Regions from separate parts of the Homo sapiens genome. Here all the other regions are linked to region 1. The links are contacts of gene promoters, found by promoter capture Hi-C in human tissues and cell types (Jung and others, 2019). All regions are on one chromosome and are shown on one strand. The core of a region is centred on a gene start or on the middle of the fragment in contact, and the rest is flanking DNA. Distances in the headings are between cores, read along the strand shown.

Evidence for each region. The method cuts DNA at HindIII sites, captures the fragments that hold promoters and counts their contacts. A contact is called where the count stands out against the background at its distance.
Region 2: a contact is called between a fragment that was not itself captured here and the fragment with the promoter of KCNK9 in region 1, in 2 of the 25 tissues and cell types used here (dorsolateral prefrontal cortex and mesenchymal stem cells).
Region 3: a contact is called between the fragment with the promoter of AGO2 here and the fragment with the promoter of KCNK9 in region 1, in 1 of the 25 tissues and cell types used here (stomach).

Annotation. Positions count from the first base shown.
Region 1 is chr8:139,700,728-139,705,313 of GRCh38, forward strand. KCNK9 (potassium two pore domain channel subfamily K member 9) reads right to left here and starts at 2,396. Exons shown (of 2, transcript NM_001282534.2): 1 at 1,983-2,396. The coding sequence starts at 2,265. RefSeq lists a silencer at 2,119-2,413. The HindIII fragment of the contact is 18,854 bases long and covers 1-4,586 here.
Region 2 is chr8:138,837,053-138,841,944 of GRCh38, forward strand. The region is part of intron 4 of COL22A1 (collagen type XXII alpha 1 chain); the gene reads right to left. Among named protein-coding and RNA genes, the nearest start is that of COL22A1, 75 kb to the right of the region's middle. The HindIII fragment of the contact is 6,501 bases long and covers 1-4,892 here.
Region 3 is chr8:140,632,724-140,637,545 of GRCh38, forward strand. It overlaps AGO2 (argonaute RISC catalytic component 2), which reads right to left and starts at 2,910. Exons shown (of 19, transcript NM_012154.5): 1 at 2,762-2,910. The coding sequence starts at 2,783. It overlaps ERICD (E2F1-regulated inhibitor of cell death), which reads left to right and starts at 1,512. Exons shown (of 1, transcript NR_170171.1): 1 at 1,512-4,822. RefSeq lists enhancers at 381-1,148, 1,149-1,915 and silencers at 1,722-1,771, 2,255-2,424, 3,075-3,474. The HindIII fragment of the contact is 25,430 bases long and covers 1,328-4,822 here.

The DNA of each region.
Region 1 (4,586 bases), core at 1,146-3,645:
AGCTTCTCTTTGGAGTTTTAACCGTTACAGGCATACACCCAGAGCTACCAATCAGAATCAACCATGGAAACACACCTCAGTAAGAACTTCATCAGTCTCCACAATGCATTTCTTAAGGAAAACTGGCACATTTCAGAGTTTGCTTTTAACACCAATCCTCTCCTCGATGTTGTCGCTCAACTCTCGGGATCAGCCAAGCATTTTATGTGCCTGTTTTACTACTGGAAGCCAGCATGCTAGCCAAATTCACCTGTCTTCCATCTTCAACCCTAAAGGCATGTTTAAGGGCCTTGGGGCTTTCTCCTTTCCCCAGGGGTGGCCAGTTTCAGAGGCATATTTCTTACTCTCCAGCTCTCCAGCAAACAGGCCCCTGTCTCCCAGAATCACTGCCCTGTGCATCTGCGTGCCACTGCCACAGTTTAAAGCCAGAGAAAATGGCAATGACTGGCCCTCTCAGAAGCTGGAAACACAGTGTGGGAAGGGAAGGAGTCATCTGTGTTTGGGGTGCTGGGCAAAGGGCGTGGGGCAAGCAAGAGCCAAGCTGATTATGTAGATAACAGAAGGACAATTTCCTTCACAAACAGAAAAACCTGCACCAATGAATTAAACATTTAAAACAAGATGACTCTCTAAAAAGTATTTTCAACCAAGAAGGAAAGACAGGCCGTCCTGTGCTGGCGCTTCCTGTTGCATATGGCACTGAGAAATCCTTTTTTTTTCAGTATGCAGAGATTTCCAGACAAAGAAAAATATCAAGAGGGAAATTAGAGGAGGAGGTCCAGAGAAGCGAGACAGGAGGAGCTGGGAAGAAGGGAGGGGGGAAGGAGGAGGTCCCTGCCCAGGGCACAGGGGTGTGAAGCCCTGAGGGGTGCAGGAAACAGACCACCCCCACTAACACACTGGCCTTGGCAAGTCCAAGGAGATGGCCCTAGAGAGGCAGCCTGCCTCACTGGGGCAAGTGAACCACAGAGACACCACCCTGCCTCCTGCCATGCAGGGTATCCACCACGTCCACCCGAATGAAGGTACCTGCCCCAGCTCCCACAGGTCTCCAAGTATAACGTCCGGGAGTCCTCCCAGCCCCCAGCCTTAGAGGGGACACTGCCCTCGGGACCGACCAGAGACCCTGCTCTGTGAATAGCGCCCTTGGCAGTGGGGCTGGCGGGCATCCCTGCAGTTTACCAGCTGGACCCCCTCTCGTGACTGGGGCTCAAGTTCCCTGGTTTCTGGGCAATGTCTAGACTGGCCTTTCCCAGTGTCACAGCCTAGGGAGTGGGCAGGTTCTGCCCTGCCCCCACTCTCCACCTCTACTGAGAGCAATTGAGGGGCTGCCACCCCCAACGCAAGCACCAGAGAGCAAACTCTCTCCTCCCAGGGGCCTGGGAAGTCCAAGCTCCAGAACTGGAACTCAGGGGAAAAAAGGAGCCGGGCGGGGGGAAGAGAGATGAAATCTGAGCTCAGAGAAGCCTGGAGCGGGGCCCAGGGGCTACGGAGGGTCAGTGCCTCTCACGCCCCAGGCGCACTCCCCTGCCACCTGAGTCCCTCTAGGAGCCATGGGTGCCAGGCCAGCCCTCTCCAACTCCCAGAGAGGTAGTAAGTGTAAGGCTCAGAGCCCCGCGCAGCCCAGCCCGCGCCGGGGCGGTGGGTGGGTGGGTGTCTGCTATGGGATTATTCTTAGCGCTCCACTCTCTTCGCAAAAGTGGCGCCTCCGCCCTCCCGGCTCAGGCACACTCGCTCGGGGCTCGCACGCCCGGCCCAGACACCAGCGCGGTGGAGAGCACCGGGTGGGGTCCCCGAAGGGTGAGGCTCGGAGGCGCCGCGGAGGGGGGGCTCCCTAGAGAGGAGGGGGCGCTGCGGGAAGGCCCCCAAGGGAGGCTGCGTTTAACCCTCGACGCCCTGCACCCAGCCCGGCGCGGCGCGCTCAGCCGCCTCCCCGGACTCCTCCCGGGGCGCGGGAGCCCAGCGGCGCGCCCAGCCCTTACCTATGGTGGTGATGACCGTGATCGCAAAGTAGAAGGAGCCGGCGAATTTCCACTGGACGCCGGCGCGGTGCGGTTCCGACTGCAGGATCACCAGCTCCAGCTGCCGGTAGTCCTCGCTGCTGATGTTGTACTTCCCCTTGATCCGGATCTCCTCGGCTTTGAGTTTCTCCTCCTCGCGCATCTCGTGGTCCGACTCGAGGGCGTCGAACACGGCGGCGCCCACCAGCAGGTAGGTGAAGGTGCAGACGATGAGGGACAGAGTCCGCACGTTCTGCCTCTTCATGGCCGCCAGCAAGGAGCCGGCGCGGGGGGCATGTCCCGCAGGCTCACAGCCGCGCGCGTCCCACTGCAGCGCCCGGCGGCCGCCGCCGCCTCCTCCTCCGCCGCCGCCGCCGCCGCCTCCAAGTTGTAAGCGGCGGCGGCAGCAGCAGCAGCAGCAGCGGGGAGGCGGGGGGCGGGGAGGCTGGGGGGGGCCCCCTCCGCTGGGGCCGCCACAGCCACCGCCACCGCGAGGCGGCTGGCGGGGCAGGGGCGGCGCGGGCCCGGGCTCAGCCGAGAAGGCGGACAGGCACAGGAGGCTGCTCGAGCGCCGGGGCCAGGCGTCCGGGAACCCCGACACCCTGCGCCAGACCCGGCCGAAGCAGCCCGCCCCACTGCGCAGGGCCATGCAGGGCGGCCCCGCTGGGTACCGCGCGGGCCTTGCTGCCCTCCGCACCCCGCCCCCCGCTCCCGCGGGAAACGCAGGGACGGGAACCGGAGCCAGAAAGCGGCCGGAGGGCGGCCGCGGGGCCCGGTACCCCTGTGGGTCCAGCTCGCGGGTGGCGGTGCCCAGCAAGGAGCCTGCAGGTCCGCGCGCCCAGCGGAACCTGCTTCCCCTTTTACCCCTCCTCGCCCCCTCTCGGTGGTGGGGAGGAAAAGTTTGCGAAGTGGCGGTGTCTCTGGAGTCCCCTGCAAGCGGGGAGGGGGCCGAGCAGGTGCAGCGGGAGGGGCAGCCCGCTCCCCAAAGGTCCGCGCGCCCAGCGCCCACCCGGGCGCGCGGGTGCGCAGCGGGGTCCCCGCCGGGCGTCGGCCGGTGCGCGAAGTTTGCTCGGCTCAACCCCCAAGGCGCGGGAGCGGGGCGCGGCCCCAGGACGGCAGGGACCGCGATGGAGCGGCTTCGGGGGCGGCCGGGGGACGGCGCGGTGGCGGTCGGCCAGCCCGCTCCTCCGGGGGCGGCGGGCGCGGCGGCGGCGGCGGGAGGGGTCCCGCGGGCCTCGCGGAGCAGCGGGGCGGACGCGGGCGCATGAGCCGCGCGGGGGTCGGGGCCCTCCGGCGTCCGGGCGTCCCGGGAGGCGGCCGCCGCGCTGGTCTGCCCCGGGCGCTACGTGCGTGCGCGCCGTTGGGAGCCCGAATGTGTGTGTGCGCGTGTGTATGTGCGTGTGTGTGTGTGTGTGTGTGTGCGCTTGGCAGCCCCGCTCCGGCGGGAGGGCCTCGGGGAGCGGGGGCCGGGCTACGCCGAGGCCGGGCCTCCCTCCCTCCCTCCCTCCCGCAGCCTCCAGGGCGCGCCACCTCCCGCCTGGTCCCCAGCCAGCTGGCGAGGCTGCTGTGGCAGCTCCCGCTGCAGACCCAGCGCGGCGCAGGGCGCACGCGGAGGGAGCCCGGGAGGGGCGGCCTGAGCCGCCAGGGAGGGGGCGGGGGCGGAGCCGCCGGCGGGTTTTGGCGGGGGATGGGAGGATAAACGCGGCTTCTTGGGTCCTTCTAGCCCCGCTCCCCAAGAGCGCAAGCAGCCCTGGCGGGTGGAGAGTTTGAGGGACTCGGGGTTGGAGGAGGAAAACGGGATTCAGCCAGAGATGGCAGGCTGACAGCTTCAGGCAGATTGGGCAGAGAGTGGGGAGCAGAAGGGGAGGGGGCCATGGGCACACAGGAGAGCGGCAGCAGCGGTTCACGAAGTCTTCCCCACCCCCCACCCCCCACCTAGCCACCCGGCGCGGGAGCGTGTCATTGGCCAGGGACATGGCCTCGTGGAGTGGTGGGGTCCCGAGGGCTGCCTCGGCCCCCTCGCCTCCCAGCGGCACAGCCCGCTTGGGCCAGCACCTGCAGACCCGAGTCGTTTCCCTGGAGAGCGCTAAGGACAGCATGGGCCGCCACTTTTGGAGTCAGGACAGCGGGGAAAGACATCGCAATCCCCCGACCCAGTAACCTCTCTGTTGCTTTACTGAAGGAAAAAAAAAAAATACACACACACACACACACACACACACACACACACACACACACACATATATATATATATATATATATATATAATCACTCTTTGATATATATAATCACTCTTTGGTTCCCCACAGCTGGGCGCAAGGTGCGCCGTGGATGCAGCCCTGAGCCACGCGATAGCCCCCTCGAGACCACCTGGGGTAGGAACACGAGGCTCGGGCTGGGGCGCACCTATTCCCTGCTTCCAGATGAGCCCTCTCCAGGCTTTATCTCCTTCCCATTTTGGCCTCCTTTACCTCCTCCCCCTCCCCGCCCTCTCCCTTTAGGCTATCGAGGGGCTTTTCCTTGACCTTCGGCTTCCTGAATCCCGCCTGGAGCCCTGGAGCTCCAAAAGGACAGACCCAAGCCTCA
Region 2 (4,892 bases), core at 1,213-3,712, 860 kb before region 1:
AGAATGATTTATTGCAGGGGTGTCATGAGACCTAAGTGTGATGATGGGATTAAATACCTGGGGGGAAGCCAGCACCCAGGAGTTACTCGGTCAACCCCACTGTCCCTGCCTGGGGACCACAGTGGGAACCTGTTGACCCAAGTGAAGCTTGGTCCCCTGGCAATAGCTCTGCCACCACCCCAGAGCCCCACCTCTTTCACTCTGGTTATAAGGACCAGGCCTCCAGAGTGCATGACTGGGAGCAGCCGCCACACCTACCGGAGAGGGAGTCCTGGGGAGTCCCCGAGAGATCCCAAGTTGGACGAGGCCAGTCACCCAGACATTGGGAGACATTCACCAAATGCATGCTGGGAGCACTCCCTGTCCCTCATCTCTCCCCTGCACTGCTGTTGACAAAGCCCCCAGCCCACCTGAACAGGACCTCAATGCCCCAGAGGCTGCAGTCTCAGCATCGCCTGGGGACAGAAGCATGGAGAGTCCCCACAGCTCTGGGCTCCCAGGCAGGCCCAGTGAGGAGCAGCTGTTGGAACTGACTGGGCCCCATACAACAAGGGGCCTTTGACAACCCACCGGGCTGCCCCTGTATTGGGGCCTCTGTGTCTGGAAGTGTCCTGGGGCCTGAGGAGCCCCAGCAGTGGGAGGGGCTGGTGCCTCTGAATGGGGGAGCTTGGCCATGAAGACCTGGAGGGCCCTGCGGTTCCAGGGTTCCATGAAACTGGTGCCTAAAGTGTACAGTCTGCTTAGGATTAGATGTTGTCCCAGAGAAAGGCAGAATAGGTGAGAACAGGTTTTGAGACCAGCCCATTCTAGGTTCAAAACCTGGCCCAGCCCTGGCCAGAGGTGGGACGTGTCCTGGTGGCCTCCTCCTCAGTGATGTAGGGGTGAGGACGTGCCTTGCAGGGTTGTCACCTTGAGGAGGGGCACAGACAGCACCTGGGAGTTCTTGAGGTGGGAGCTGGGGGAGGGGGTCGCTGCTGAAGAAAAGCAGCAGCCAGTGTAATTGAGGCAGCAGAAGCAGTGGCGTGGAGGGAAAGAGAGCACCGCAGCCGGCCACACCTGGGTTCCTGTCCCTGTTCTCAGACTCAGCAGTTCCACGGCTTTGGGGCAATTTCTCAGCCCCTTAAGCCCCCATTTGTCATCTGTGCAAAGGGGATAGGCAGCCACTTCTCAGGGCCACCTGAGGAATCTCACAGAGGTGGGGTCCCTGGAGGCTCATGGGGAGTGAGGGCTCTTACTCAGAGGAGGCTCACAGGTGGCCTCAGCAGCCCCTCACACACTCACTGAGGGATGAGGGGGAGTGAGGAGAGCCTAAGAGCTGGTCCAGAATCTGGGCGGACACGTGCCTACCCTGGGAAAAGTCAGGGCCGGGAACTGCAAAGTGGGCCGATCCTCTACTTCACAGCACCATCAAACACCACTAAAAATGGACACCTTCATCTGCTTTTCCCTTCAGCAGTCATATTGGAGAGAATATATGAAATAGACTTGTTTTCAAAAAGCAAGCCTATGCTCTACTTTCTGGTTCCACTTTTATTGGTTTCAGTGAACAAAAACAAAGAGTTGAATACAACAAAACTTGGAACAACAAGGAATTAACTAGGTGGCAGCAAAGGGCACCAAAAAAAAAAAAAGATAAATTGCCCAAAATAAATAAGGGCTGGGAAGGAGAATAAAAAATGTTCCCGAGGAAAGCAGGCTGTGATGCAAGGCACTGTGAGATAAAAAAAAAGCAATTGTTTTATGCAAAAAATAGAGGGAGCACCTCGCTGAAGCCAGGGAAGCCGCTGGACCACGTGGTGTCAGAAGACCTTAGTGATGGCCCAGGTCACTGGCTGCACCTGCTGTGCCAGGTACCTACTGTGTGCTCCTCACCTCATCCAGCAAAGGTCGACCTGGATGGAACTTTGCTGCTGCCCTCCCCCACCCCCTTAGCTGCCTTAGTTCCTCTTGGAGTTTCCATGGGTCTGGGTAAGATGCAGGCAGCTTATGTTTATGGGGCTGCCTCCTCCAGTAGATGGAGAGCTCTTTCAGGAAAGGGATGATTTGATCTGTTTCTCCATCCTTAAAATGCCTGCTGCTTTTGCTGTTCCTATTCAAGCATTTGAGGGTCATTTGTGGAAGGAGAGAAGAAGAGAATGAAGGAATTCATGACCCACTATAAAGGGCCTCCTATGTGTTAGATGCTGCGTGGGCTGCTCAGGTTGCCATCATGAACAAGCATCTGGGCTACTGTGGGATGTCAGGACCCACGGCGAGGGTACACTGGCTGGGAATAGGGTGGGCTGGTGCCGGTCAGGCTGGGCTTTTGTCGGCTCCATCGGCGAGTTTGGGTTTCTTTCTTCAGGCAATGAGGAGCCACAGAGGGCTTTAAAGTGAGGGAGAAATACCATCTGGTTTCTATTTTCCAAGGTCATTCTGGCAGCAGGGCATGGAGGGGCAAGACCAGCCAGGAGTAGGTAAAGGTACAATGCACACTGGGCATTTGCAATGTTTAACGCAGCCCAAGGCACTCTGCTCCCACACAGAGTTCCAGCTGGGAACTGGAGGGCAGAGATGAGGTGAGTGAGATGAGGGCAGGTGAGGAGGGAGGGATGGAAGAAGCAGTTGAATTGGAGGGCGGTTTAGAAGGTATCATGGGCAGGACTTGGTGATTATCTGGATGGGGGGCCCAAGTGGGAAGAGAGAGACATCCAGGATGTCTGTGGCCAAATTTGAGACCTGCACATGCCTAACATATGCTTTAAGCATTAAGTAGCTAAACTTCTAGAAAAGTTGCCTAACGCTTTTATTGGCTAGAATTTGTAGAACATTTGGTTTTTAGAGCTGAGAGGGACTCTTGAAGACATTCTGTAGGATCCACTGTTATATAGGTGAGGAAACTGAGGCTCAGAGAAGTCAAAAGATTGACCCAAGGTTGGCTGGCTGGTGAGCAGCAGGGCCATCTAAGACCTATGCCTCCAATCTCCTGCGTCTATTCTCATCCTCGTGCTCCCAGACCCAGCCCAGATATGCCCTAAAAATAGCCAGAGTCATTTATGGGAAAGCCTGGAGGTGAGGCTTTTGGGGACTGCATTTTTTCCAGAATACAGAAGCTGTCCCTATTACCCAATGGCATTTAAATTGGCAAATTTGAGGCTCCATCTCTCCACAACTCCCTCTTCAGCCTGAACATGGCTGGAGCGGTTTTTCGGGGCTGGTTATAATTAGAGGAGACGGTAGATAAAGCAGGTTCTCTGTGCATTCAGAACTGCACAAACAGTATTTGCTCTTCAGACTGAAGGATGCCCAGCTGACATTGTGATTTCTTTTCCAGGGAGACTCCAAAGAGGGAGGGGAGGCTTCAGGACTCCTCTGGCTGTGGACTGACACAGGAGGGCCCATAATAGAGGGTCCCGGTCACCAAACAGACTCTTTGAAAGGATCCTCCACATATGTCGTAGACTAAGAAATCTGTTCAAAGTCCTGCATTTTCATGTGTGAGTACACACACACACACACACACACACGCGCTCCTGAATCTTCCCAGCAAGAATCAGTTATTATTATTATTATTAAGAAAAGGTCTTGCTCTGTCACCCAGGCTGGAGTGCAGTGGCGTGATCTCAGCTCACTGCAACCTCTTCCTCCTGGGCTTAAGCGAACCACCCACCTCAGCTTTGGCTAATCTTTTCATGGGTATTTTTTGGTAGAGATGGGGCACGCACCACCATAGTTGGCTGATTTTTTTGTGTGTATTTTTTGTAGAGATGGGGTTTCACTATGTTGCCCAGGCTGGTCTTGAACTCCTGAGCTTAAGCAATTCACCTGCCTTGGCTTCCCAAAGCTCTAGTATCACAGGCGTGAGCCACTGCACCCAGCCAGAATTATTCTTAAGTAGAAAATAATTGCTATTCTTCAGCCTACAGAATGACAAGAAAAGCTTTAAATTCATGCTGAGTTACAGATGATGCAGGCAGGTTTGTTTGTTCATTTGTCTGTCTGCCTTCCTTCCTTCCATTCTTCTTTCTCCCTCCTTTCCTTTCTTCCTTCTTCCATCCATCATTTTGTCCATCCCTCCATCCAGCCTCCCATCCAACCATTCATGTTTTCATCCTTTGATTAATGTTTCTTATTTTCACTAATTCATTCATATATCCATCCATTCATTTCACAAACATTTGTCACATTCCTTCTAAGTGTCAGGTACGGTCCTCTACTCTTAAGACACAAAGAATAAAGCCCAAGTATAAACAAGTCCTGCTCTCAAACAGCTCATATGCTTGCTGGGGAGGTAGACAGGGACGCAAATCATTATAATGCCTTCAGATTGGAGTTCTCAGAATAGAATAAAATGTTAAAAGAGCAACTAATTGCCCTGTGGGGCTTCAAGCAGTTTCCTGGAGGTGACTGTTGAGTTGGGCTTTGGGGGATGAATAGGAGCTCACTGTGAGAATAAGTTGGGGATGGACACACCACACAGAGGTAATACCATCAGCTAAGGGGAGTACTGCATCTTTGGGGGCTAGCAAGCATTCCAATAGATTCATGAGTAAGCTAGGACAGAAGAGTCAGAACCTCTTCTGCAGAGTAGGAAGCATGGACTAGATTCTAGGAGCCAAGGAATCCAGGTTTTAGAAAGACAGCCCTTGACGAAGAGGAGGGAAGAGGGCAGTGCTGGAGGTTGACATGCTGATTAGAGATGCTACAAAACTCCAAAGGAAAGACAACAGTGGTCTGGATGGGCCTGGGGGCAGCAAAGGAAGTGCAATTTTCTTTCAACTCTTCCAGCCACCAAGTAGATGCAATGACAGCAAAAGTGCTATGTCTGGGAGTGGCCAGTCCATGGGGAAGAGCTCTGAATATTGCAACGCAGCCTATTTTTCCCTTCCTATGGCAGGAAAAGAGAGTAACTT
Region 3 (4,822 bases), core at 1,660-4,159, 930 kb after region 1:
TCAAAAAACGAAAAAATAGTAACATTTCTAACTTCAGATTCTAAATAGCATTCACATACGTCACAGCATTTGTTTGTGATTGGTATAATGTAGAGCTATTGTGAACTGCTTTTTAAATTAGTAAGTTGCCTAATAAGGGTGTTACAATTGGAAGTAGCAAAACTATTTGTAATTTTTCTTTTCTTTTTTTTTTTTTTCTTGAGATGGAGTCTCCAAGTCTCACTCTGTCCCCAGGCTGGAGTGCAGTGGCGCAATCTTGGCTCACTGCAACCTCTGCCTCAAGGGTTCAAGCGATTCTCCTGCCTCAGCCTCCCGAGTAGCTGGGACTACAGGCGTGCACCACCACGCCCAGCTAATTTTTGTATTTTTAGTAGAGACGGGGTTTCATGATGTTGGCCAGGATGGTCTCGATCTCTTGACCTCGTGATCCGCCCGCCTTGGCCTCCCAATGTAATTTTTCTATAATTCAAATTGAATGTCTTATAATTCTAAATTAGAAAGTATAAGATTAAAAAGAGTCTCAATGAAGACTATTCCAAAAATTCCTTTTACACAAAATTAAAAGCCTTAATGTGTAGCATAAAATGGAACTGCACCACAGACTTATAATTACAGCACGTTTGTACAACCTGAAACTTGGGTTCATTCCCATCCTGCCATTAGCTATGAATTATCCTGCAGACACATTTATTCTTTCAACCACTGTCCTGTTCCAGAGGGTCCACTCCCTACCAGGCCCACACCAAGGCAACAATCTCCAAAAAGCAGCGAGTGACAGAAACGAGCCTGTGGATCATGAGGGCCAAGGTACGCTGAAAAATGAAATCGACAAGACAGCATCCCGGGGCAGTGCACACAGTACAGCAGTGAGCTGGGGTGGCTTCCTGAAGCCCCGCTGTCAATGACAAGTATGCGGGCAGGTGCTGGTCCAGTCCAGCCCTAACAGAGACTTCTTACTGTGGGTCTGGGTTATAGGGCTTGAAAGGGACTGCCCTGAGGAAGGCACCCAGAGAACCAGCTCGGAAGTCGGACCGATTGTCCTGATACTCACTCACTGCTGTGTGACCTTGGTGAAGTTCTCAACCTCTGTGAGCCTCGGCTGTCTGTCTTCACAAACACCACCAACCTCAGCAAGTGGAGTGAATTAAGTAACACGCAAAACACAACACAGAAAGCTTGACCTTCCTTAAAGCCTCTTCACTTTTTCTGGGCCTCCAACTTTTAAAACCGATAACCTGAAAAAATGTAGTGCTGTCAGTCCCATAAGCTGGGTTCCTCTACAAAGAGGAGCTGGAAGGTCCCAACTCACAAGGGGATGCCCGGTCCTTTCCCAAGAGGGGGCCTGGCCACCCAAGGCCTCTAGAGGCCAGCACCTGCTCCAGGACTGCGGCCCCTCCCAGGTGGAGGGGGAAAATCATTCTTCAAACTGCTGATGGCCCTCAGGGGTTGAAAAGTTGGTCAGACTCCGCCTTGTTGAAGCTTTCTAAATGACATCAGAAAAAAGACGCGACATTCGCAAGGCACAGAGCCAACAGCTCCAGCAGTGGGGGCCACCATCAACGGACCAAGGTGGGCCAGGGGGCCTTCCGGACCCCACAATTTGGGGCCGGTCTGCAGCAACGAGGGCAGCATCGGGAATGCGAGCCTCCTCGCCCGGCCGGGTAAACATAAGCCCAGAGCCCGGCGGGGCCTGCGCCGCCTGCGGCCCGGCTGGGGCCCAGCGGACAAAGGGGAGCAGGCGGTGCCCCGTCCCAGCGGCCAGGCCGGCCGAGAGAGCCAGGAGCCACGTGCCCGGTGGGAGCACGCCAAAAGCAGGAGAACACCTGACCGTTTTTTTGGCCCACCAAGGAGACCGCCTTCTACTCTGCATTTAAAAAGAAAAACAACGCGTTACCGCTTTAAGTTTTTTAGAACTTTTCCAGAGAAAGGCCGACTAGCAACAAGGGGTGCTACAGGAATCCACCTCGCCTCACCTCTCCTAGGAAATTGTAAAAGGAATTAGCACTTGAATGGGGAGGCCGGCGTGTCTGGAATGAGAACGAGCCGCGCACGCAGTTTGAGGGTTCCGGGGAGCCGCGTCCTCCCCTTTCCAGGCGACAGCCCTAACTACAGGAATTGGCCAAAATTCAGCATTTCCAGACTTTCCTTGGGAAAAGGGGCCGAAGAAGTGCCGGCAACAAGAAGGGCCACAACGGAGCGCGCCACAGACTCACCGCGGCTGGGGTCGGGACCGGCGCAGCCCCCTCCCCTCCCGCCCGTGCGCGCCCCGAGCCGGGCGCCCCGACCCGGCCTCCACCCGCTCAGGCGCTCAGGGTCAGGCCGGGCCGGGCTGCGGCGCCCCCATCCCCGCCCGGGCAGCGAGGCCGGGCCAAGCGGGGCGCTCCGGGCCTCGGGCCTACACGCGGCGGCCGCCTCGGCCCCGGCCCCAGCCCGCGGGCCCCGGGCGGGGGATGCGAGGACGCTGGGACGCGGGCCCGAGGCGCGGGAGGGGCCCAGGCCGCGCGGGGCGCCCCGACGACTCGCGGGGGCCGAGGAGGCCGGGGCTGCGCGTCCAACGCGGGGCCGAGAAAACGGCCGGCTCGGCCCCGCCGCCGCCGCTCCTCGAGCCCCCAAGCGCGGCCCCGGCTCGCCCGCCCCCGGCCCCCGCCGCCCCGACCCCGCGGCCCCCCGATCCCCGGCCCCTGCCGCCCGCGCCGGGCCCGCCAACCACGGGCAGGAGCGCGCGAACGGCCGGGCGGGCGCCCCGAGCGCCAGGACTCACCGGGGCCGGCTCCCGAGTACATGGTGGCGCCGCCGAGGGGCTCCGGGGCCGAGGGGCGGCCGCGCGCGCGCCACGGGCCCCGACGCCGCGAGCCGCGAGGGAGCCGCCGGCCGCACGATCCGCCCCGGCGCGGCCGCCTCGCCAAACAGGTTTACCCGACGCGGCCGGGGCGGCGGGCGGAGGCGGCGGCGGGAGCGGGAGCGGGAGGGGCGGGGGAGGAAGGAGGAGGGAGGGGGAGGGGAGGCGAGGCCGGCGGCGGGAGCGCGCTCGCGGGGGGAGCGGGGCTGGGCGCGCGGGCGGGGTCCGCGGCGGCGGCGGCGGCGGCGCCGGGTCTGGCGGGGCCTGGGGCGGGGACCCGGGGAGGGGCCCGGAGACCTCGCCGGGCGGTGGGAACCGCGGGCGGGAGCGGGGACGAGGGCCGAGGGCGGCGCGGCCCGTGTGGCGCGGGGGCGGGCGCGGCCCCGGGGACCCTTCACTGCCACCCAGAGAAGCCGCGTCTTCCCGACGGGGAGGAGCCGGGCCCCCCGGCTGTGCCGCCGGAGCCGGAGGGGAGGCCACGCGCCCCCGCTTTCCCCGCCGCCCCCCGGTGGGGGGCGCAGAACCCTCCCACCCTCAGCCCCTCGGCCCCCAGCCTGGCTCTTTAAGTTACTACAGAAACACGGAGGTCGGGAAGCTCCCTCCCAGCCCGGAGCTTGAACTTGAACGCGGCCGGCCGCTCGCGCAGGACCACACCGCCACCTCCCGGCGCGGCCCCAGAACCCAGATAATCCGTTTAAAGCACTGAGAAAATCTAAGAAGTTTTTAGTAAACTGTAGCTGGTATCAGGGATCAGATCAGCGGACACGCCCATTCCAGCAGTCAGGGGCCTGCTCGGACCGTCGTGCACCTCCGAGCGTTTCTGTCCGGTCCCTCTGGGTCCGTCTGGTTTTCGGAGGCTTTCCTGGAAAAGCCAGCCTGTGGCTACCTCCTTTCTCCCCTAAGTGATGGAGGATTAGAAGGCAGAGGTTGACCCACAATCTAAAGTGCCTGGTCGCCTTTTCCCAGATTTCCCGGAGCATTCCTTCACCCCGTGGCATCGGCTGTCTGCATATGGGTGCAAGGCCCTGTTCCGGGCGGAGAATAAACAGGAGTTCTGACTGACAGGAGCTCCGCAGCCAGCAGGGTGGTCACTAGTTCTCTGCAGTCTCGGAGGACAGCCCTGAAGAAGGGCAGGAGAACCAGCACTTCCTCCGAAAACTCAAAAGGACATCAGTCTTCACCAAGTTGCCGATACAAAACGTGCTCCTGAAATGTGTAGTAATGAACACCAGGAAACCTGGGTAGGAGTGTGCATGGCATTCTTCATCACCGCTTGGACTGCATGGCACTGAATACCCACGGAGAGCAGGATGGAGAAACAGTGTGCTCATATTCACAGGATGGAATCTAGCCATTCACAAAAATTCCAAAACAGGCAAAATTAAACTGCATTCTTTAGGGAAGCATCATTAAGTAGTAAATAATTGACAGAAGGGCAAGAAGGTGCTTACTCTAAGTGTCAGAATGGTGGATACAGCTGGGGGTGAGAGGGCTGTGACCACAGCAGGGCCCCTGGGGGATTTGGGGGTGCCAGGCCTGTTCCTTCCTGCAATGGTGCCCTTTGGCAGCCATCCCTTAAACTGCACTTTTACTTTATATGCTTTTCTGTACCTTTACTGTAGTATTTCACGGAAATTTTTAAATAATCATGAATGTTACCACTTTCCTATTTATGAACCATGCAACCTCATCAATCTTCCCAGTTCGCAGATGCCCACCCTCTCTCTCTGCCCCTGTCTCCTTCACATATCCCCAAAACTCGTTTTGGCCCGAAATCCCTGAGGCCCAACTGCCCTGCTGTCAGCGACTGCACGCCTCAGCAAAGGCCCAGAAGGCTCTGTCATCACTGGCTGCCCTCAGCCCGCCTTCAGCTCCTTTGAGCGCTGTGTTGGGGAACTTTGTTGCAAGGATTTCGTTCCAGAAGGCAAGATAATGTCTCTGAGGGCTTCATTGTGTCACTTCTCTTTGGATGGCGGACACCGT